Regions from separate parts of the Homo sapiens genome. Here regions 1, 2 and 4 are each linked to region 3. Evidence: promoter capture Hi-C in 16 types of primary human blood cells and fetal thymus (Javierre and others, 2016). All regions are on one chromosome and are shown on one strand. Each heading gives the region's core, a stretch centred on a gene start or on the middle of the fragment in contact. The rest is flanking DNA. Distances are from core to core; before and after follow the strand shown. Region 1 overlaps C8orf44-SGK3 (C8orf44-SGK3 readthrough). Region 2 holds the start of RRS1 (regulator of ribosome synthesis 1). Region 3 holds the start of ARFGEF1 (ARF guanine nucleotide exchange factor 1). Region 4 overlaps ADHFE1 (alcohol dehydrogenase iron containing 1).

Region 1 (5,829 bases), core at 1,488-3,987, 570 kb after region 3:
GAGATGTTCAGTGACCAATGCCTCATTATTCCTTCATCAGTCTCCTGAATCATCAATTTCTGCCTCTTCACTGGATCACTCCAAGTACTATATGTACTAATATGCTATGGTATCTTAATAAAATCCTCCCTAAAAATATAGATTTACTTATTTAATGATACTTATGTAGTGTTTACCATGTGCTGGGAGTATATCAGCATGTGTACCCTCATTTTTTATTATTTTTATGAATGATTCTATCTGATAACACACTTAACTAAGGCTTTATAAAATCAAGGAGAACTCAGGATAAACACAGATGCTTATGCAGTGTGATAAAGGAAACTTTACTCTCAAGTAAATATTTGCTTTCAAAATTCTCCTGACACTAAAACTATTATCACATTAGTAAAAATTTCCCAAAGCACAAAAATTACAACCAATTACATATTTAAATTATAATACTTATTTAAATTATACTACTTAATTTCAAATCCTGACCTTACAGTGGCTATGTTATTAGTAAAGACAACATGCAGAATTTTACCTTAATATTTTAACATTTCAAAAATTAGGGTATATATATATATGCCCTAATTTTATACATATATATGTATAAAATGTATATATGTGTATATGTATAAAACGTATATATATAAAAAATGTGTTTTATATATATATATATATATATATATATATATATATATATATTCACACACATACATATACATATATATATATCTCCCCCCTACCTAACAATAGAAACTGCTGCTTCATTCTAGGAACGGTAAAATAAATTTAGACCTACATCTATAAGCACCTAAAATCAAAAACAACAAAAATAAGTTAATGTATGCCCTAGAATGGAAAAACTTCAGTTGAGGTTTGGAAGGCCACAGGAGAAAAGATAAAATTAAGTGACAGAAACATTTACACAAGCTCGAGTCAAGTTTTAATCTGAGTCACAAGTAAAATAAAATCATTGACTCAACTGGAATATGTGAAAGGATATGCTTGTAATATAAAATTCAGCAAAATGTGTTAAATGCTGATATCAAACTTAGTAAAACTATAAACTTCAACAATAGTAAATTCAAGTATCTCATATCTACCACCTTTTTCTGAAGGACTAAAAACTTCTGGCATATATACCTTTCTCCACACATCCAGGACAATCAGGAAAAAGGTATGAAGTTTTTTTTAAGATTAAACAATGAAAGGAAAGAAAGTAAATTACTTTCTGCAGACCAGAGAGAAAGAGAATCTTCAGTCCTATCCAGTATAGAAACAAAGCAAAGAAACAGTATTCCATGTGTCTAGAAATACAAAAACAAAATATATTTTAGGAATAATACTCCACAAAATCCTAAGCTGCAGATATTGCTCAATAAAGTTGTCTTCTCCTGATGGTTTCCTGAATTTACTGCGTACTTTTAAAAACATCTGCCTATCCATCTACATGCGTATTGGACATGCTGCTCTCCCTACACCCACTCCCCTCTATAAATCCAGACCTCAGTGTCTTCATTTGTATCTTTTTACTTGGTACTGACTTTTTCCTTGTCATCTTCTTCATTTGTCTATACTGTAGAAATAATTGTTGAAGCTCAATATTTAACGATTTAAAGGTCTGTTTGATATAATTTTAAGTTCATGTTTGTTTAAAAAACAGTTAAGTGGCTGGGCACGGTGGCTCACGCCTGTAATCCTGGCACTTGGGGAGGCCGAGGCGGGCGATCATGAGGTCAGGAGATCGAGACCATCCTGGCTAACACGGTGAAACCCCGTCTCTACTAAAAATACAAAAAATTAGCCGAGCGTGGTGGCGGGCGCCTGTAGTCCCAGCTACTCCGGATTCTGAGGCAGGAGAATGGCGTGAACCCGGGAGGCGGAGCTTGCCAAGTGCCGAGATCGCGCCACCACTTCACTCCAGCCTGGGCAACAAAGCGAGACTCCATAACAAAAGAAAAAAAGAAAAAGAAGCAGATAAGCAGATGTGGGTCTTATTTTTCCTTTAAAAGAAACTGAAATGTGTGTGTGCATGCTTCTTGTTCTCCAGGACATGAAGCACTGAAGAAAAGACCAATGCCCGAAGCTTTCAAATTCAAAGTAGACTGTGCTAAATTCTCTATGATAGTCACCAGCATTCAGAGAAAGAAAAAACCACTTCCAACTGAACTTACCTAGATATTTGGTAGGGAACGGCAGGGGCCGCATGTGAGGGGGGGTTTGCAGAATGGGAACTCAAAACAGAAAGGGCAGCAGAAGTCCTCACTAGAAACAGGCAACAGCCACTAGTCCACTATGTCTAAATCCCTGCCCACATCGGAGAAAAAGATTAACTCATCAATAAAAACAGAAAGAGAAACTGTCATGAAGCAACACTCATTTTGGGATTTTATAGGACATCACCATTAAAGCCTTAATTCTACTGTCATATTTACAAACCTAAACTGGAACTCATCTCTTCATCTATAGGAGATACAGACTGTAAAAGTGGGCTTTAAATCATGTTGTAGGGAATTCTGAATGTCAGGCTTTTCACTCTGGATTTCATTCTGCAGGTAAGGATGTGAAGTCACTTGAAAAGGGAACTGCAGGGCTGTAAGTGTCAAATTAAAATGAAGGGAATGAAGAAATGGGCTTGGCAACAACAGGAGAGGCAGGTTTGCAACAAAAATGACAGATGAAATAACGTGGTAGCTATTTGCATGTGGGGTACAAAGGTAGAAGAAAGAATTAACATTGCCTCAAGATTTTATTCCTGGGTAACTAGGAATAAATAAAATGGAGGGAGGGGAAAATAGGGCAAAATGACAGTGAATTGGCGTAAATAATTACTAGTCTTGTTGGAAATGTCTGCATCAGATCCATGAATTCGGTACCTCCTGTGTGCCAGGCACTATTTCCAAGCACTTAGGATACAACAGTGAACACAACTGGCAAACAACTTTACCCACATGGAACTTACGCTCTCATGTCAGACAACAGATAATGAATAAGTCAATCAATAGGTCAATATATAAGTGTGGTGTTGTATGCAATTTTAAATAGGAAGGTAACATCTAAACAAACACCCAGAGGTGAAGGAGTGAGCTATACAAAAAGTTGGGGAAGAGTCAGCAACTAACAAAACAGTAGCTCAAAATAATTTCACTCCACAATGCTTTTGAACTTAGCAGCCACATTGTGACATTATCTCTTTGGGACCCAGTCCTACTTCCTTGGGTGAGCATTCAGGGTTCCACTTCCTGACTCCTACCCAATCAAGAAAACTTCGCCAATAAAACAGCGATAAAAAAACTGCCTAGTAGGTCAATTTGTTTATACTGGCTGTTTACATTCCCTACCTGGGAGAAGAGGGCTGCATTTTAAAAGGACAAAACCAAAGCACATTAGAACATGTTTGTACAAAGCTTAAGAAGACAATCATCTTGTTCTCAAAGCAATAATTAATGTAGCAACTTTGAGACTTGTGATTTAAATCAAAGGTACTACTGAAGAATGATTATGAATCATGCAATTAAGCTACCAAGCAGGATAGTGCTGGAAAGGAAAGCCATTCACAGAACCATAAAACTGTCAAAGATAAAGATAGTAACTATCATCAAAACTAGAAATAACATCATCATTTGATTTTATACTTTGTTGATCAGCAGAGCTGAATTCTAGCCTAAGCTCTGCCATTTATTGATTCTGAGTCTTTGGCCTCATCCTTATCTGTAAAGACCAGCTGGTCTGATTTTTCAGATTCCTTTCAATTCTGAGATTCCCTGCAGCAAGCTATGGTTCCTATGATGTTTATTTATGTATTGGGGGTGCTCTGGTTTACTTAGTTTTGCAATAATAGTACAAATAAGCATCCACCCAAAATAGCACAACTTAAAAGTTCTGTATAAAGCGATATAAACTGCTTTTAAACAAACCCGCCTGAACTTGGTGCTTAAAATGAGGCTACATTCACCTTAAAGGCGCTGCCTCTTTTTTGATCCCTGTTTTGGAACAGCCTTCGAGACTGAAGTTTCTGTGGATGGGATTTGGAACAAGGTGGATGATCACATCAGGTAACACCCCTAGTGAAAGAAAAGTAAGAGACCTTTTCTTGTGGAACTCGGTCTAAGAAAACTGTTCCAAAGGAATCCCCAAGCATTTCTAGCAACAGCTCTGAGGAAAGAATATACGTAGGTTTTCCGGTGATGACAATTCTTGAGATTAATGCCCATCTGAATGCATAACAAAGAAAACAGCCAAAGTTTATTGTGGACTATGAGCCAGGTATTAACTCATTTAATCTTCAAAAACTGCTGTATGGTTAGAACTATCATTATCCCCATTTTACATACGCTAAAACTAAGGCATAGAAAAGTTAGGCAAATTGCCCAAGTTTTCGCAGTTAATAAGTAGATTCAAAACCATGATTTTAGCTCCGAAGTCTGCGTGCTTCATCTCCAAGATACACTCCCTACGTAACCCCTGCTGTCCATGTTTAAGTAACAGTCCCGTTTCTACTACACCTTTCTTACAAACTGAATAACACAAAGTAAAAGTAAAGCCCCACCGCAAGCTCACTATCGGGTTTCTCCTCCTGTCCTGAACCACAAACTATATTTTAAAGGATATACAAACTTGACAGTACCTGGGGCTTCTCGACATTTAGAGGGGGTGTGTGTGGAACAACTCAAACGTTTTCTGTCTCGGACCAAGTGCAGTGAATGAGTGCCGCGAAGTCGCAGCACGCCCGGGTGTGGAGCCCGCCTCTCCTCTCAGGGGTTCACAGGAGGGGCCGCCCGCGCGCCCCGCCCCGCGCTCGTGATGGGCGCGGAAATGGCACCGGGGCCCGTCACACCACACCTGCCTCCCGCGCCCCCGGGGTCCCTCCACCTGGCCCGCGCAGTGCCGGGGCTGTTCTCCGCCAAGGGTTCCTCGCGCAAGCTCGATGAGCCACACGCTTACCTTCGGGCACCCACCCCCGGCGCATGGCGAATGGGAAGCGCCGCCACTGCTGCGCCACACTCGGCCGGGACCTGCGCCGCGCCACCAGCTCCCAGCGGCGCCAGCTGCGCTCCCTGCGGGGGCCAAACCTGCAGGCCCCGCCCCCTGCGGCAGGCCCCGCCCTCACCAATCACCACCGGCCACGCCCGAATATGGCTCGGTCAGCCCCGCCCTCGGAGCTCTTCGGCCACACCCCCGAAGGAGCTGCCGGTGGGGTGCAGCCCCAGGGCCTTAATTAAGTAAATAAGCGGGGGAGGAAAGGCGGGAAGCCAGCATTTGGGAGACAGAAAACGAGAGGACCCCCGCGGGGAAGGTGAAGAGAGCCTTGGGCGGGGGCAAGGAATGAGAAGGCACTCTCCCCAGGTTCCCGCTAAAGTGTAGATCTCAAAACAACCGCGCTCATTCAAGACACTGGCATAATCTCATTTTCCTCGGGCGGGGTAGGAGTCACACACGAATTCAGGGCTCCAGGCGTGAGACGTCATTAGGAATGGGATTCAGAGGAGCAAAGAAACGAAGCAATTCCTTTACTAGTCTCCACCACACATCCTTTACTTCAAAAATTGGGGAGTCGGCTCCCAGTAAGAATCCTCACCCCGAGCTTAAATTGTTAATCAATCTCGTTCCCTTCAAACAGCTCAGGCGCATCACGAGAGAGCAGACGCGGCCGGGTTTGGCATGAATGTCCGTAGTGTGCTACTCTAAGGTTTGCGTCTGCGTGTACAGATAAAGGAAAACCAGAATCCTCGAAACGACTTGTTTTAACTATTAATGCATCTGAGTCTGGACAGTGAAAAACGGCTGGAAGCATCAAGCCAATAACCGAGTAGGGCGCAGTTCCTACAGTCCCAGCTACTC
Region 2 (5,765 bases), core at 2,271-4,770, 910 kb after region 3:
CGGGCGGCAGCGGCCATGGCGCTTGGAGTCCTCTTCCCTCCTCGGGTCGCTACACCGCCCCCTCCGCCGGCCAATCACGGAGGCTGCCCGCCTCCCGCCCCTCGGCCGCGCCTGCCCACCCGCTTCGCGGGGTCACCTGTCTAAGCCTCAAGCCAGTCGGGCTCAGGGCCATTTTCCCACGGAGTAAGAACCAGAACGCCAGCTGCCCCAGCGGCGCTCGCACCATCCACCCTTGAAATTGCCGTAGAAGGTAACTGCTCCGTAGGCCTCGGGTTCTGCCTTAAATCTCCTTACTTATCAACTCTATTTTTCACATGTTGAGGACTTGGGGGAAGGAAGAGGAACAGGGATATTCTTTTTCCACTGTTAATCCTTTAAAATGTTACTTTCCCTTCTAAGAGTATTTTAAGTGATCAAGACCCTGCCTTTAAACTGTTTTAACAGTAAACAAGAACCTAGCAGAGCCCGAGGGTTTTTGTTAAATACTGTGTGAATGGCTTTGCTTTTGATGAAAGCAAAATCAATAGTTAAAACTCTTACATCAATAGTTAAAACTTGCCATGATTAGACTATGCTCCGGGAGGGCTTGGCTGTGCCATATCTGCCATGTCCCAGTGGAAAAGCTGATTAACGATAAAGCTCAACTTTATCAGAAAGTATCCAAAGACAGTAACAACTAAACATTTGCATTTTTAGTAATCTGTTATTATGAAATCTGAATCCTTTATGGGAGATATTAAGTTTTACAGAAATGAATTTACTGCGATCAAACTGGAAAAGATTGATGGACAGGAAGACCAAGGACAGCTATATAAACATTTCACCTCCTAATCAAACCAGCTCAGGCCAACTTGACAAATGAATCAAAAAATAATGTTCTATGAGAACACATGTACACAGGGAGGGGAACAACACACATTGGGGCCTGGGGGCAGGGGATAGAAGGGGGCAGAGGGACTTAATACTTAGGTGATGGGTTGATAGGTGCAGCAAGCCACCACAGCACACGTTTACCTATGTAACAAACATGCACATCCTGCACATCTACTCCGGAACTTAAAAAAAGATAATAATGTCCTAATTAAGGATCTTATGGGTCTGTTTCTTTCTTCCCCCAAACAAAACTATACCTGACGTCAAGCTTAAAAACAAACACACACACACAAACAACTGGGGATATAAACGTAGAGAAAGATTTAAGTGTTTTCTGGATTAATGAGGATTATTACCATTAGTCAATGAAGCCCAAATTGATCATTTACAGGAAATCCATGTGTTCAGTGTTGAAAGGCATAAAATCTTTTTAAAAAACAGACATCAGTTTTACTACTTTGAATATTATATTTGATACCAAAAGAAGTATAAGTTTAGAAGTGGTATCACTGAAACCATTATAATTGAACTGCTTTTTTTTTTTGAGATGGCCCCTTCCTCTGTTGCCCAGGCTGGAGTGGAGTGCAGTGGCGTGATCTGGGCTCACTGCAACCTCCGCCTCCCAGGTTCAAACGATACTCCTGCCTCAGCCTCCCAAGTAGCTGGGACTACAGGTACCAGCCACCGTGTCTGGCTAATTTTTTTATTTTTAGTAGAGATGGGGTTTCACTGTGTTGGCCAGGCTGGTCGCGAACTCCTGACCTCAGGTGATCCGCCCGCCCCGGCCTCCCAAAGTACTGGGACTCTACAGGAGTGAGCCACTGCGCACGGCCTGCTTTGTGTTTTTCAGAAAGTAAACAAAAATAATCTGTACCAGGTATCCAGGTAACCGGCTTCAAGTACAATTTCTACCCAGTAGTCAGAAAGTTAAAAGTCACACTAGATAAGACATCTTTATTACTTAATCTTTAAAACAGTCACTTGCCTATTCAATTCTGAAACTGTTTGTTTTCTTTCCCTCCCCCGCACTCCCGCTCTGATACACAAACTTGTTGTAAAAATAATGCAGAAACATATACGTCAATCTAAGTCTCTGAAATATGGCCAACTCTACCTCGCCGTATATCCAACATTAAAAAGAAAAAAAAAGGCTGTTTAAGAATAGAACTCATTCCCGGTTTCCACCAAATTATTTCCCTAATTCTTAAATCCTCAAATAAGTTCTTAATCTCCAAAGTCTCGGTTGTGGGAAAAACATTAATTTGTGCAGTCCAACACTTACATACTTTCTTGACGGAAGGGCAATCCTGTCCCTTTAAACTCAATGAAGGCAGCGGCCAGGTCCTTCTGAGTCCCCGTATAATTGCCTAGAACTTAACATTTAGTATTCATAGTCCTTGGTTTACAGACGGGTCCGACAGTTAGAAACTATTACTTCCTCCTCTTTCCTCCTGGGCGCTGTCCTCCTTTTCTCTTGCCACCCAAGCCAGGCGGCCCAGAATTCATCTTGCCTCCCAAGCCCCCTTTCCTCTTCCCTCCCTGGCTGGGCGGGCCCCCTTTCCTCTTGCCCCCAGGCCCCTGCCGGCCTCCCTTTCTCTTGCCCTTCTGGCTCATTTTCCTCCTCTTGGCGGCCTCCTCCTGGTCCTCCTCCCTCATCTGCTTATTGGTGGCCCTAGTCACATCCAGCTGAGGCTTCTTGCTGTTCATGACACGAAGCAGCTCCAACTGGTTCTTTTTCTCGGCTGCAAAGTCCCCGAAAAGGGGTTGAAACTTCCTTTTCTTGCCGGAGCCCCGGGGCACCTTCTCCTTGGGGAGGCGCTCCTGAAAGCGCCCCACAGAGGCGGTGGAGACCTTGGCCACTTGCATGGCGCGGCCCAGCTCCTCCTTACTCTGGTGTCCGGTAGGGTGCAAGCCGGCCGCGCTGGGCAGCTGCATCTTGTGCGCGCGGGCCAGGTTACGCAGCCGGTTCAGCTCGTTCTTGGCCACCCTTTCCTTCTTGGCCTGAATCCGCTTGGCGAACTGGTCCTCCAAGGGGTCGGCATTGCCGGGCACCTCAATCAGCCATTCTTTGGTGTCGTCCCGGGCGCGCTGGTAGCCCCAGCGCCGCCGCCACTGGCCACTCACCTCGTCCCACACCAGGTTGGTCTTCTTCTTGGGACGGATGCCCTTGAGGCGCGCGAACTGCTGCCAGCGTGTAAGTGGCCGCGGTCGGGGCAGAGGCTTCTCTCGCGGCAGGCGTGTGGTGGGCTCCGGCAGCCGCGCCACTATCGCCTCTTCCACGCGCTCCGTGGGCAGCTGCCACAGCTGGTTGATGAGCAGTTGCGTGTTGTCCCGCGCCAGGGCCTGTAGCTCGGCCTCCGGCGTGGGTCCGGCGCACCGCAGCCCGGTCGGGGGGTTCCGGTCCGACGCCAGCAGGTTGCCCAGGTCAAACTGCAGCTCCAGCTCCTTGTGCACCGTGATGCGTTGCAACTTCTCTGCCTCGTCCTGCTCTGCCTTTGCGAGCAGCTCCTCCACGCTCTGGCCCTCCATGGCTCCGGCTCGGCTCACTCGCTTTGGGGCTGCAGCTGAAGTTACTTTTCCTACAGTGGCGGCCCAAACTCCGGCAGCATAACCACGTGCAGATGCCGGGATGCCCAATCCGGAAAAGAAAGGTTCGCTTCCGGAGCGTCCGGAAGCGGCTCGCAATCCGGGCGACCAGAGGAAAGGCCGGCAGAGGGCGGTATGGAGAGATGATGGGATTAGAAGCGGGACCTTTAGGCTGGCGCCAGATAGAGGCGGAGCTGGCCCGAGCAGGCCGCACTGCTAGTTCCAGAGCAGGATTGGGACTACGATTCCCAGGATGCAGGGGGCGGGAGGCGGTCTAGAGGGCGGTCCAGGGACAGCTCGGGGGGCCGCCTAGGGGGTGGTCCAGGGGGCGGTCCGGGGACAGTCTCGCAGGCGGTCTAGAGAGGGCGGTCCCGGGGGGCGATCTAGGGGGCGGTCTTGGGGGGGGCAGTTCAGGGAGTGGTCTTAGGATGGTGGTCCGGGGACAGTCTTGGGGCTCAATCCGGAGGGGCGGGCCGGAGGGTTTGTCCAGGGGCGCGGTCCGGGACCGGGGCGGGTACAAATTCCTGGGACTGCCTGTGGTGTGGGGTTCCAATCAAGTGCGTGTTACAATTTCAGTGTAAATCCGTTGTGAAGATGTTTAGACAATCACCCTTCTTAGGGCCAAATAGTTTCACTGGAGTCATAGTCGGCTTTCAGGGTTCCTAGTTGTGGCCCGAGAAAGATAACATCCCAAAGATACACATAGAGCTAATTGTAGAAGATTCGTTTTGTTTTGGGAGTCAGTGGCTCTGGCAATGAAGCCACCCCGAGTGGGCGCGGGTGTGCACCGACCCTAGTGAGCTAGCTGACTCGGAGATCCGGGATTCTGCAGTTACAGAACCTAGTCTAGTTCAATTAATCTAGTACAGTGCTGAAACTAAGCCACGCTCTGCAGTTACACTGCCTGGGTTCCAATCCTGACTGTGCCACTGTTGGTCCTTCAGCAATTTTACTTGTTGAGGCCGTTTTAAGGCCTGCGAGATAATGATAATAATACTTCCTAGGGTGGTTATAAGATAAATGAGTTAATATCGTCCAAGGGAGGGTTAGACGAGGGCCTGGAGCGTATGAGTACTCAGTACAAATTAGCCAAATACCGATTATTATTTCATTTTCATAGGCTCTGGGAGGTAAGTGCTACATGGTGTTAAGTATGAGTCAAACGGCCTACAATCAGGTATCAGGTCACCATTACTTGGAGAGGATGTTTGATCTAAGCCTTATTTATAAATTGACAAACATAAAACATTAGTTACTGCTACATGGTAAGAACTCAGTATGTGTTAGCTATTAGTATTAACTATGTTATTAATTATTGTATTAACTATATTATTTTCACAGATGAAACAAGGAGGGCTCAGAGAGGTGAAATGACTTATCTAAAGTTATGCAGTTAGGGAATATAAGAACAAGAGATATCTTAACTCTGGTTTTAAGTCTGTAGATCTATTCTCTGCAATGTCGTCCAAGCTCTTGATACTCATTAAAGTGTGGTCTGCATACCAGCAGCATAATATCCCCTGGGAGCTTGTTGGAAATGCAGAACGTCAGGCCTCACTCTAGATGTAATTTATCAGAACCTTTATTTTAATAAGATCTGTAGGTGACTAGGATGTACATTTGAGTATCAGAGGCACTGTTGATTGCGTGGTTTACAGGGTTTATCTTCCTTTCACTGGGGGCCAGGTTTATCCTAGAGGGGGTTATGCTGGAGAATTAACCAATGAAATTAACTTAATAGCAATTAGCAAATAGACTCAGTTTAGTTTCAGCATTGTGCTAGCCTTTCTCATCCAGAAGCATTTTAGAATTTGCTGTTTTTTTTTTCCCCTTGAACCTACTTTAACATTCAGCATCAAGGCTTTAACATCAGTCATCCCATGTAGCCAAGGCTAGGTCAAAGACCATATTAGCTAACTGCCTTGAGCCTTAAACCTTTGGGATTTGCCATAGGAGAGAGTTGAGTGTATTGATATGACTGCTATGGGCTTGGCTTGGTTTCTCATTCATTCATTCACTTGACAAACATTTAATTGAATGGCTACCATGTGGCAGACACTAGGTGCAAAGATAACTGAGACCTTATGGAATACTGGGGAAGAAAGGTAAAAAGAAATTGACTATATAATGTAACGTCATTGGACCTTTAATAGGAAGTACCAGTTATGTAGGAGTTAGCTTCTCTGTCAATCTTCTGAATTGGGAAAAAAAGAGCATAGGTTGACAAGTGTTAAATGGTATGATCTGGATCATACAGGTCAGCTCTTAATTGAACTCTGTTTTATGTTCAGTGTTTTTTTTTTTTT
Region 3 (5,736 bases), core at 2,100-4,599:
GACTACTCCTACCCCCCTCCACCCTCAAGCACCACCACCTTTTGGGTAAACCCAGCAAGGGAAGAGGATGAGTTGTCCTCCCAAAGGAAGATGCAAATCATTCCTTCTGGGAGGGTTAGGTCATATCTCAGAGGAGTTTATTCTTCTGAAACTGACAACTACACTCTTTACCCTCAAATCTTCCATCTAGCCTATCTCTACAAATGGCATTTCCAACTGTTCACTGGTTCCCAGCAGAAACCTGGTATTCATTTGTGACCTCTTTCTCTCTCTAACCTGCACTCCAGTTAATTAAGTCCGGTTTATTCTGCCACCAAAGTATATCCCAAATCTGTCTACTTTGCTCCATCTCCATGCTACCACTGTCATTTCTGGGCTAACCTTTATGCAAATTAGTGAAAGAAGCCTCTTCTTTTGGGCAGACAGTGGGGCTGGATTTCAGCCACACTTGCTCCCTTGTGCCACGATCTCCACAACCTTGCTTGGTGGCCCTGGACCTGACCAAGCCATCCTGCGCTGTTGTAATAAATTTCTTAAAATGTTTTGCCACATCCTCACTTCTCCCCCTCCAATCCATTCTCCATGTAACAGAGGGATTATTTTAAAATCACCAATTTGATCACTTTATCCCCCACTTTTAAAACCTTTCAATGAATTTCCATTGTTATTACGATGAAATTGCAACCCCCTAACATGGCCTACGAGAGTCTGAATGATCTGGTTCCTAGCTCCCTCTTCATCCTGACTGGCACCATTCTCCTTGATCCTTTCAGCCACACTGCCTTGTTTTGTTTCCTGAAACTTGCCAAGCTTCCCCCTACCCCAAGAGACTTTGCCTGGAAAGTTCTTCATGACTTAGTTTGGCTAATGTCTACTCTTCTTTCAGGTCTCAATTTAATTTACTTCTCCCTTCTCTCACAGCACTCTATTCTTTAATCATACTCAACAGATTTGTAATTGTATATTCACTACTGACTTAATATCTTTTCCCTACTCTATACTGTAAGGTCCAAAAGGGCAGGTATCATGCTTGTCTTAGCCTGGTGCCTTTCATTTATCCAAGTTTCTATAAGTTTATAGCAAAGGCCTTCTCTATGCCAGCAATATAATAGATGATGGGCACACAGAAGTGAATAGACAGAGATATGAGGTCCCTGCACTTATGAGAGAAACATGCAACCAATCAACAAGCAAGGCAAGCAGATGAGATGATTATGAATGCTGTGGCACTATCATATCATAGTTCACTGCAGCCTCGAACTCCTGAGCTCAAGCGATCCTTCCTCCTCAGTCTCCTGAGCAGCTGCAACTACAGGTGGATGCCACCGTGCCTGGCTAATTTTTCTTTATTTTTTGTAAAGACAGTGTCTTGCTACGTTGCCCAGTTTCATCTGCAAATCCCGGCCTCAAGCCATTCTCCTGCCTTGGCCTCCCAAAGTGCTGGGACTACAGGTGCCAGCTTGTCTTGTTCATCAATGAATCCCAAGTATGTTTTACGATAAAGCTGACAGCTAAACATAACCGAAGAGTCTGCTTCGTTCATGTAAAGTACAAAATAGTTATTCTAGATGGTTCTTCTCCAAGAGTTCCAATTCAGAAACTAAGACTCCTAACTTGTGGTTCTGCCATCTTCAGCTGTGGCCATAGAAGGGAAAAGAGAGACTGGGCATGGTGGCTTATGCCTGTAATCTCAGCACTGGGAGGCTGAGGCAGGAGGATCGCTTGAGGCCACGAGTTCAACATGGTGAGATGCCATCTCTACCAAAAGAAAAAAAAAAAAAAGGGAAACAGCATGAAAGATTGCTTGTGGGAATTTCTTGTTGGTTTTTTAACAATAGGTTAAGCCTGGATGGCTACACCTAACTTCAAGGGAGGCTGGACAATGCAATTCTATACTAAGAAAGAAGAGTAAATGGGTTTGGTGATCAGCTAGTACCCTCAACAGTACCTGGCACAACACTCCATTATGAAGAAACAAAGATGAATTAGAAATGGATCAACACCTGTGAAAGAAGGGAAGAAAAAAATAAAAGAAATGGAACTTGTTCTAAAAAAGTTTATTAACGTATACACAGAAATCAGTATTATATCTGATCTAAGAGTATAATGAATCCTTCATTTCCAGGAATCTAGAGATAGTCTCTAAAATAAAATTAATGAATTTATAGATTTGTTTCTCAGGACAATAAAGTTTAAAAAAATTAATCTATTTTTCCACTTTAATTTGTCACCTTCAAGTTTTCCATTTTATTTCCTCTGGGTTTTAGCCTTCCTAAATCTGGTCACTTCACTAAGTTCACAGAGTCACTTAAGTTTCTCCTTCCTTAGGTTTGGATGGTTACGTTAGGACAAGCCTATAGTTAAGGCAATCTAATAGAACAGAACAGTGACAGATGCATAGTAAACATTAGGGAACCTGTGTGCGTGGAGCCACAGAAGCTTAGAACTTGGAGACGTGACCCTAGATCACCATATATAATGTTTGCAAATATTTTTATGGTATTCTTTTTCTGCTCAGAAGGAAACTGTAGAAATTAAATACTGCAGAAATTTGAGTTCTACACTCAGACTAAAGCAAACACATGGTCACGTGTGTTAATCTGTTTGTACTTAAAGCTTTTCCATTCTAAACTGGTTTACATGTCCTGGACTAAATCTTAGTATTAAAGGCACAGAAACACAGAACTCTAAGGGACCTCATTCACAACCATTCACCTTAACTGAGTCAATTCAGAAGGGACCTGAAATCTAGAGTTGACCGATTTATCCGACAGAGAGAGAAAAAAGTGAAACATTTTTGAACCCTTATCAATAGGTTTTGGCTTACTTTTCCCAAAACAGAATCCTCCCTGAGGTAGTCGGAGAGCAGAGTCCTGGACAGCAGTTCCGTGCACTAGGGAAGGAAATTTTAGAGTCGAGTGATGCAGGCGGAGACCCTGCGGCTGAGAACGGGCGATGCGGGTGTTGCTGTGACCCCTGGAATGCAAAGGACTGCACCCCCATCAGAAAGTTAGAAAGCCAGTGCAGAGTAGCCAGGAGTCCTGTTCACTCGGCAGGAGCAGGGGTGCCGAGTGGGGGGATCTCTGGTCCCGCAGCTCGGCCGCCACCAAGAGCCCGAAGTGCTGGGCGCGGTGCCACCAGAGGCCCGCCACGCCCCACGCCGCCCTGCAGGCGAACGCTGGAGGCCCCGCCGGGCCGCCGTAGCGCTGCGGCTCGGGCCGCTCCTCCCGCGCCGCCCTCCGCCCCCAGCCTCCCGGCGCCGCGGCAGCTCTGGGCAGGGAGCGCCGCCGCCGCCGCCGCCGCCGCCGCTTCCTCGTCTGCAGCCGTTCGGCCGCTGCGTGACGCGTCGTTTCCTCCCAACATGGCGGCCGGGGCAGGTCGGCGGTGATGGGGGCCAGTTCGCGGCCGCGGCGGGTGCTAATCCCCACAGTAGCCAGGGTAGCCCTTCTCTCGCGGTGCCTCTGAGAGCCGCCGCCACCTCGTCCCTCAGTTCCCGGCAGACAGCCGCCCGGGCCGGGCTCCCTCACCGCCACCAGGGCCGGAGGGACGAGTGAGAGGGGCGGCCGGGACGCGACCCCCGGGCCGGGAGAAGCGGAGGCCCGACGGGCGCGGCCCTCGAGGTACGGCTTCTTGGGGGCGGCGAGGACCTCGACGCCCTTCGCCGACACCGCGGCTGGTCCCGCTCGCCCGCCCCTTCCTGATCCTGCCGCTGCCCTCCACGCCTCCAATCCCCCACCTCCACCCCCTCTCCTTTCTCTCTTCTCTTCCTTCCTCTCCTCCTCCTCCCCTCCAGCCGCTGGGAGCCGCGGGTCGGACGAGCCGCCGCCTCCTTCTCTGCGTCCATGTATGAGGGGAAGAAGACGAAGAACATGTTCCTGACCCGGGCTCTGGAGAAGATATTGGCCGACAAGGAAGTGAAGAAGGCGCATCACTCCCAGCTGCGCAAAGCTTGCGAGGTGGCGTTAGGTGAGCGGGGAGGAGGCCCGGGGGATGGGGTGCTTGTTGTGGGGCGGGGAGGGGGGCGCCTGTGGGGGGGTGGGGTCGCCCGGGGCTTGCCCGAGGCCCGCGCCTCTGACCTCGGGAAGCCCTCGCGGAGCCCTCTGTTCCCTGTCTGGAGTTGACAGGAACTCGGCTGGATGTGGGGCAGAGGCGGGGTAGAGGAGGAAGGGCAGTGAGCTGGGCTCGGGAAACGCGGCAGGGCTTAGGATCGCGGGGCACCTGGGTTCGAGGGATCGACTTGAGAGTGAGAGGATTTTGTTGGTGGTCCGTGAGGTGCGGACTGGATACCACCCTTTGTGATGAAGCAGAAGATGAGCTGTTGTTTATTAGCTTGGAAATTGAGGTGGGGCTGGTATGTCAAGATTGGGTGTGGGAAAGGTTCCGTATCATAATTAACAATAACTTTTTCGTTTGGCGAGGTACTTTGGGGAGATAGGCTGCTGAAGTTGTTTCCTTGTTGACAGTCTTGAGAAGGGGTTTGCAAGAGGTGCAGCCCGTTCTGACATCTCTCCGCCTCCGCCACAGGAAAAACATAGAGTAATATTGTATCTGACTGGGCTGACCTGGAAGAACAAGACCGGTGGTTAAGGGGTGAGGGTGGGGGTGGCGGCATGAAAGCAGGGAAGCAAAGAACCTTTAGATAAAATGGCTTTAGGTGACAAGGGAAGGGAGGGTTTGAAATGAGGAAAATGAAAAAGACAATGACACCCACCAGCCACATGTCTGGACAGTGGCAGCTGCTCTCAAGCTTGAATTGTGATTTATAGTTCAGATGGAAGAGATCTAGTGTAATGAAGCCCGCAGCAGGGAAAATCCAAACAATACCTCCTACCTATGAGGTTAGGCAGATGAGGAGTTGTTAAAGGGGGAACATTGTTAGATCTATTGCATCCATCAAAGTTGAAATCGTTTGAGAGACCAGAACATTTAACACAAAGATACATTCCTAATGTTTACACTTTATAGCACTGGAAATACACTAGGTCAAATTGGCAAGAAAAGGAAGCTTGTTAAATGGGCTTTACAAAAAAGCATTCTTGAAAGGGGAAAAATCCACAATAACTTAAAGTATGCTAGAGTTAAGGAGTCTAGACAACTTAAAATTAGCTTTTAATTATTAAATGGAAGACTACCATTTAATTTGCTGTAATATACTGTAGTTTTTTTTTCCTAGATCGTTAAAATTGGTAATATGAAAAACGTCGAAGAAATTTCATCTTAAAACATTTGAATGTGTAGTATTAGGGGCTTAAGATTATTTTTTCACCTTACTTATCGACCAGAAGTTTGCATTTTGTTATTTTTGTAGCTAACAAAAGACTGTTCCCGGTGTATGAGAAGACAGTTGTCTAGTGGCAAAAACTGTATTTATATCTAGATCCTGAAAGGAATAATATTAAATTGGAGTGAGACTGGGGAGAAAGTGATTTCAGGATTTTTAAAAGAATTGTTATATGTAGGTTTGTAAATTACTTGAAGGTTGAAGAACTTTAGAGAGATTCAAATTAAAGTTTTAAATTTTTGTTTGTTTTTTGAGACAGGGGCTTGCTCTGTCACCCAGACTGAAGCGCAGTGACACAATCAGTGCTCAGTGCCGCCTCAAACTCCCAGGATCAGGCATTCCTCCTGCCTCAGCCTCCCAAGTAATTGGGACTTCAGGCACACCACCACACCTGGCTAATTTTTTTTTTTTTTTTTTTTTTTTGGTGGAGATGGCGGTCTCTCTATATCGCCCAG
Region 4 (5,670 bases), core at 1,398-3,897, 880 kb after region 3:
ACATAGCCAATAAGCACATGAAAAGATGCTCACCATCCTTAGTCATTTGGGAAATGCAAATCAAAACAATAAGATACCACTTCACACCATTAGAATGGCTATTACACACACACAAAAGAAAAATAACAAGTGTTGTTGAGGATGTGAAGAAACTGAAGCCCTGGTGCACTGTTAATGGAAATGTAAAATGGTGCAGCCACTATAGAAAACAGTTTAGCAGTTCCTCAGAAAGTTAAACATAGAGTTACTATATGATACAACAATTCTACTCCTAGGTATATACCCCAAAGAATTGAAAGCAGGGACTCAAATAGATACTTGTACACCAATATTCATCGCAGCATTATTCATAATAGTCAAAAGGTGGAAACAACCCAAGTGTCTATCAATAGGTAAATGCATAACCAAAATGTAGTATATCCATACAATGGAACATTATTCAGCTATAAAAAAGGAATAAAATTCTGACACATGCTACAACGTGGATGAACACTAAAGGCACTGTGCTGGGTGAAATAAGCCAGTCACAAAAGGACAAATATTGTATGATTTCACTTACATGAGGTACCTAGGATAGGCAAATTCATAGAGACAGAAAGTAGGACAGAGGTTCCCAGGGGCTGTGAGAAGGGGAGAACGGGGAATTCGTGTTTAACAGACACACCACTTGTTTGGCATGATTAAAAAAAGAGTTCTGAAAATGGATAGTGGTGATGGTTGCACAACATTGTGCATGTATTTAATGGCATGGCATTGTACACTTAAAAATGGTTAAAATGGTAAATTTTATGTTATACATATTTTATCACAATTTAAAAGATAAGTTAAAGCAGGAAGAAAGGATAGAGGGACAGATGAGAGAGGGGTGAGGGACAATGCCTATGAGTATGGGTGAGGTAAAGACAAAGTTTCACATCCCAGCAGATTTTTAAGAGACCCTAAGGAATTTTGGAAATCCATAGCAAGGCAGAGGGTCTCATTATGTATGTGTTTGTGCAGGGTCAAGAACTGAAGTTCAGTGTTTGCTGTAACTGCAGATGATGGCAAGTTACGTTGTTCATAATGGGAGAGAGTCTTATCTGATGAGCTCAAAGGCCCTTGACATGATCCTGTTTATCTTTGGTGGAGCGGTGCAGGACTCTTAGAAGTATTTGAAGCCAAGCCTGAGCTGAGTTTCTGTTTCGCGTTTCTGGCCCCCAGTGATTGGTTAAACAGGACAAGGACATAAAGTTTGTGATATGTCCCTATACATATCAGCTCTGCCATAAAAAAGCTAAACTCTCTCAGAATTAAGATATGTTAAGCAATGATGTGCTATTATTTATAGGCATGTAAGAGTGAAGGACAACTCATTAACATGGGAACGAAATAAATTCAGACATCTACTTTTAGCACGTTCATGAAATAACAACATTTCAGCTGGCCTGTCTACCAGGGAGTGGAAGTGCTCATTTGGGTAGACAGCGCTCCTCAGTAATGAAATGTTTTGATTTGAAATGTAAATGTTTCTTTCCAGGGGTTTTAGAAATCCAGCTTGGAAGATTAATATATTCTTGCCTGCTCCCCTTGCAGCCTGGCTATGGCAGTTGAAAGCCTCTGTACACAGGGCTGCTATTAGCTGCCACCAGTATGGGCTGTGTTTGGTCAAGAATACTGGCCTGGTTGTTTCTTCCAGAGAAAACCAATCCTTCACTGCTGAACAGAAAAGAACCTTCATCAAATGTCAACTACATTGAATAACCTTTCTGGTGACGTTCTTTGGAGGAGCCAGTATATTCTTCTCACTACCTTAAATCCTGGAGATACTAATAAGCGAAGATTAGTCTATTGCATGTGTAAAACTCTGAAGTGGCCACAGCATTCCTGTAAAACAGTCACTGCCATCAAACAAACAAACAAAATTCCATAGTAGTTATTCATCTGCAAAATGGACAAGCTTATTTCTAAGATTCCTACCAAAGTCCTATCGATCTGTGAATATACACATATCTCAATCACGTAGACTCCAAATGAACCTAGGGCTAGTTTAATTAAAATTAACTATATTTCTCTGAATCATGAAAACATGATCAGAGGAAAAAAGGCAGCAGATGCCTTGGGGTGTTTTATGAATACAGCCTGAGGAAAATCTGGCTTCCTACTTTAAGACAGAACTTATATCCAAAAGATTCCATTTACCTCCCATTTTTGTAAAACTAAGAAATTGGTTTTGTCCAATTAAGATTTTGCTATCTGTGATTTCCCAGTATTGCATGTGCACTGAGGCATTCAGAATGATACCTAATTAAGTTGCTATTTTAGTGTTAATTTAGTGCTATTTTAGTGGTCTCAAATGTTAAGCTGGATCTGCTGCTACGTGGAATAGCTTTTGAAAGTGACAGTCTGGGCCAGTTGTGGTGGCTCACGCCTGTAATCCCAGCACTTTGGGAGGCTGAGGTGGGCGGATCACCTGAGGTCAGGAGTTTGAGACCAGCCTGGCCAACATGGTGAAACCTCGTCTCTAGTAAAAATACAAAAATTAGCTGGGCATGGTGGTGTGTGCCTGTAATACCAGCTACTCGGGAGGCTGAGGCAGGAGAATCACTTGAACCCGGCAGGCAGAGGTTGCAGTGAGCCAAGATTGCACCACTGCCCTCCAGCCTGGGCAATGAGAGTGAAACTCTGTCTCAAAAACAAAAAACAAAACAAACAAAAGAAAGTGACAGTCTGACCACAGTAGAATTAGAAGAGTAAACACCTGTCAGTGTGTACTGATGGTCAGCAATCAAATCGCCAAGGGTATCAGACAGTTTCATCTGAAAATCATGGATACCATTCTTAGAGATGGACCCACACATTTTCCTGAACACTTTCCTGGGCTAAACAAACAGAACCTTTTGGAAGGCCCCTTGCAGGGTGGACAGTGTCACTGGGACCATGCCATAAAGCCAGAAGCTACATTAAAATTGCAGTGAATGCCAGGCACTGTGGCTCATATCTATAACCCTAGGACTTTGGGAAGCCAAGGCAGGAGGATTGCTTGAGCTCAGGAATTCAAGACCAGCCTGGGTAACACAGTGAGACCTATTGTGTACAAAAAAGTTAAAAAAATTAGCCTGGTATGGTGGCACACACCTATAGTGCTGGCTACTCGGGAGGCTGAGGACAGAGGATCACTTGAGCCTGGGAGGTCAAGGCTGTGGTGAGCTGTGATTATGCCACTGCACTCCAGCCCTGTCCCTCCCTCCGGAAAAAATCACTATGACCACTCAGTCTACGGTGTCCCTGAGCTTTCATGGCTCCCCTGTCTTTGGTTGAGTCCTAGTCAGTCTAAGGAAACTTTTCAAAAAGTTATCCTCAGTCAGCCATTAAAGCTTACCTAGACAGAGGACTTAGGAGGAGAGGAATGGAGGTATGTGTTCGTTTAACATGTTTACTAGCCTGTGCTAGGTGCAATGGAAAATGGATGAGCCAAGCAGACAGATTCCTGCCCTCACAGGACTTACAGGCTGGTAGGCTTGGATAAAATAACTGTGAGGGCGTTAGAGAGTGTGATTTTTTTAGTGATTTGGTCCCTTGGACGTATGGGTTAGAATTAAGGGTTTGTGGGTTAGCCCAGGGTCTCTCCTATACTTTGAGACTCCTTTGTTTCTTGTTCATTTCTATTTGTAGATGCAATTGAATTCACTGAGCCTGAATCCAAATCAGGGAAACTGGTGGTTCACGGACTACATTTCATTTGTGCATTGGAAACCAGGGAATTCAACACAAACATCCGGATTGCTGATTTTTCTTGAGAGTTGGTAGTTCTACCAACACTGGGACCTGATCTTCTGCTTGGTGATGATAAACTGCAGCTGAGCTGCTCACCCAGTTAGATGGGTCACGTGCTTTCTGGCTTACCAAAGTCCCCACCACTCCCTAAGGCCTTACATGACATTGTTCACTGCTATTCTCTACCTGGCTCCTGTGGACACATGAGTCTATGAACACAATCTATATAAATATTATCTTAAGTGAGTGGTGAGGCTGTCAACATTCTAAGCACTAGCGAAGTGGGGAGGAAGAAGCTAGTTTGAGGCCCTTGCCTACTTGGAGTGGGGTGAGGGAAAAGCACCAGCACTTGTGGCAAGCAGGCTGCTGTGTGAGTGGATGTTTCAGCTGCTAACTCTGTTCCATGGTCAGGGAATGCCTTAGCCTGTGGCAGAAGATCCTTATCCTCATACCCTCATAGCATTGAGGTGACCTCTGCCTTTCCCATATTGGCCAAGAGGACTAAAGGAGTATTCTGGGCATGGCGACTATGGTGTGGTCCACCAACCAAGCACTCATGCTCTGAGCTCTCTGCTTTATGGTGAATTGCAATGAACAGGACCTTGGCCTATTAGGATCTGATGTGCTAGCTCAAGAGAGGTCCACTGAGGGATCAGAGTTCTTCATGAGAACCTCAGAAGAGCAAACTTTACACCTAGTATGATTCTACCGAATTAGGGATGCAGCTCCATTCACATTCTTCACAAAAATTTAAGAAATGAAATCAGACCCATAGTGACACAGATATGTATCAAGTATACAATCTCCCACATTCATCGAAAGCAATTTGGTGATAGTGTTAATTGAAAGGCTATGCCTATTCTTCACAAAATAGTAGAGACCTGGAACTCTTTTACAATGGAAAATAATATTGGTGGTCCTTTTGGAACAGCTTCACATAGTTATTTATAGGAGCCCTTCAAAGAACAGAAATGGGGAAAAGGGAAATTTTGCCATAGTTCAAGATCAGTTTGGTTGTTTTTGCCTTGAATTTTCATAAAGGATCCATCCCTTCATGAAAATTTTCATAAAAGCCTCACCTCAGCTACAGCTGTATGGATGAACAGAAAGGCGAGGGCCTGGCCCTGTTGCACCAGGAAAGGACAGAACTGCTGTCTGCTGTGGAGGAGACCCGAGAACCACCGGGGAGCCCTGGTTTCCATCCCTGCTAGCCCGCCATCAATGCAGCATGTCTTTCTGGAGGCGCTAGGCTCCTTCGCAGGGAGTGAGGAGCCTGCCGGTCTCTTACCTGGGGCAGCGTTCCTTTCACTAGTGCGGGGATATCAGCTTTGGAGTAACCAACAGCTGCTAGGCCATCATCAACATCCAGATCGAATAAGAATTTCCGGAGCGTGTCTGCCAACACCAGCCCTGCATCTTGGATCCTGGCAGTGCGGGTGTCGGCTCCTAGAAGACATAAAGTGCTGACTGTAGGGAGAGAGGAAGAAACGGGCTCTGGGTGGAGTTCAGTCACAAGATCAGTGAATACACCATGCACACCCACGGGGTCTCCCTAACGCCCAGCACGGGGCCATCGTGTGCCTCCCCAGGAGGGCCCAAGTTGGCTGGGGGAGCTCACTTAGCTCTGACATTTCGGAGGGGCTGCCAAGTCCTACATACTTGCCCCTTGTGTGGTAGGAAGAAGAGGAACAAAGACAAGAAGAGAGGTGCAGAACAAGGCAAGAAAGTCGGCTGGTGCTGGGATGGAGGAATGAATATTTGAAGAACACACAGCTTATGTAATTTCAAGGCTTGGAATTTGCTGACATCTAGAGGTGTATGATGTGTTCAACGTCTTTTCCCACAGCAACATCTTAGAAAAAGACAAATCCTTTGCAAACACCCTGTGAGACAAGCTTACAGAAGTACAAAAGCTCT

The links. Contacts are between HindIII fragments. The CHiCAGO score rates a contact against its expected background, and 5 or more counts as called.
Region 1: a fragment that was not itself captured here is called in contact with the fragment with the promoter of ARFGEF1 in region 3 in 2 of 17 cell types (fetal thymus and activated CD4 T cells); the score reaches 9.9 in fetal thymus.
Region 2: a contact is called between the fragment with the promoter of RRS1 here and the fragment with the promoter of ARFGEF1 in region 3, in 2 of 17 cell types (fetal thymus and total CD8 T cells). The highest score is 7.6, in fetal thymus.
Region 4: a contact is called between a fragment that was not itself captured here and the fragment with the promoter of ARFGEF1 in region 3, in 1 of 17 cell types (endothelial precursors). The highest score is 5.2, in endothelial precursors.

What each region holds. Positions count from the first base shown.
Region 1 is chr8:66,774,423-66,780,251 of GRCh38, reverse strand. The region is part of intron 3 of C8orf44-SGK3 (C8orf44-SGK3 readthrough); the gene reads right to left. The region is part of intron 1 of SGK3 (serum/glucocorticoid regulated kinase family member 3); the gene reads right to left. Among named protein-coding and RNA genes, the nearest start is that of SGK3, 65 kb to the right of the region's middle. RefSeq lists enhancers at 1,813-2,314, 4,843-5,343 and silencers at 4,677-5,106, 5,127-5,176. The HindIII fragment of the contact is 1,321 bases long and covers 2,077-3,397 here.
Region 2 is chr8:66,426,769-66,432,533 of GRCh38, reverse strand. It overlaps RRS1 (regulator of ribosome synthesis 1), which reads right to left and starts at 3,520. Exons shown (of 1, transcript NM_015169.4): 1 at 1,801-3,520. The coding sequence starts at 3,402. The coding sequence ends at 2,305. It overlaps RRS1-DT (RRS1 divergent transcript), which reads left to right and starts at 3,557. Exons shown (of 3, transcript NR_040434.1): 1 at 3,557-3,592. It overlaps LOC102724687 (a long non-coding RNA gene), which reads left to right and starts at 168. Exons shown (of 5, transcript XR_929013.3): 1 at 168-250. ADHFE1 (alcohol dehydrogenase iron containing 1) reads right to left here and starts at 30. Exons shown (of 14, transcript NM_144650.3): 1 at 1-30. The coding sequence starts at 17. RefSeq lists silencers at 1-196, 3,782-3,871 and enhancers at 1,953-2,002, 3,272-3,641, 4,062-4,131. The HindIII fragment of the contact is 6,678 bases long and covers 1,144-5,765 here.
Region 3 is chr8:67,341,394-67,347,129 of GRCh38, reverse strand. ARFGEF1 (ARF guanine nucleotide exchange factor 1) reads left to right here and starts at 3,349. Exons shown (of 39, transcript NM_006421.5): 1 at 3,349-3,966. The coding sequence starts at 3,843. It overlaps ARFGEF1-DT (ARFGEF1 divergent transcript), which reads right to left and starts at 3,296. Exons shown (of 5, transcript NR_136224.1): 1 at 2,828-3,296. RefSeq lists silencers at 3,059-3,318, 3,499-3,728 and an enhancer at 3,655-4,335. The HindIII fragment of the contact is 1,332 bases long and covers 2,619-3,950 here.
Region 4 is chr8:66,459,837-66,465,506 of GRCh38, reverse strand. It overlaps ADHFE1 (alcohol dehydrogenase iron containing 1), which reads right to left. Exons shown (of 14, transcript NM_144650.3): 13 at 5,042-5,199. Among named protein-coding and RNA genes, the nearest start is that of ADHFE1, 30 kb to the right of the region's middle. The HindIII fragment of the contact is 1,417 bases long and covers 1,939-3,355 here.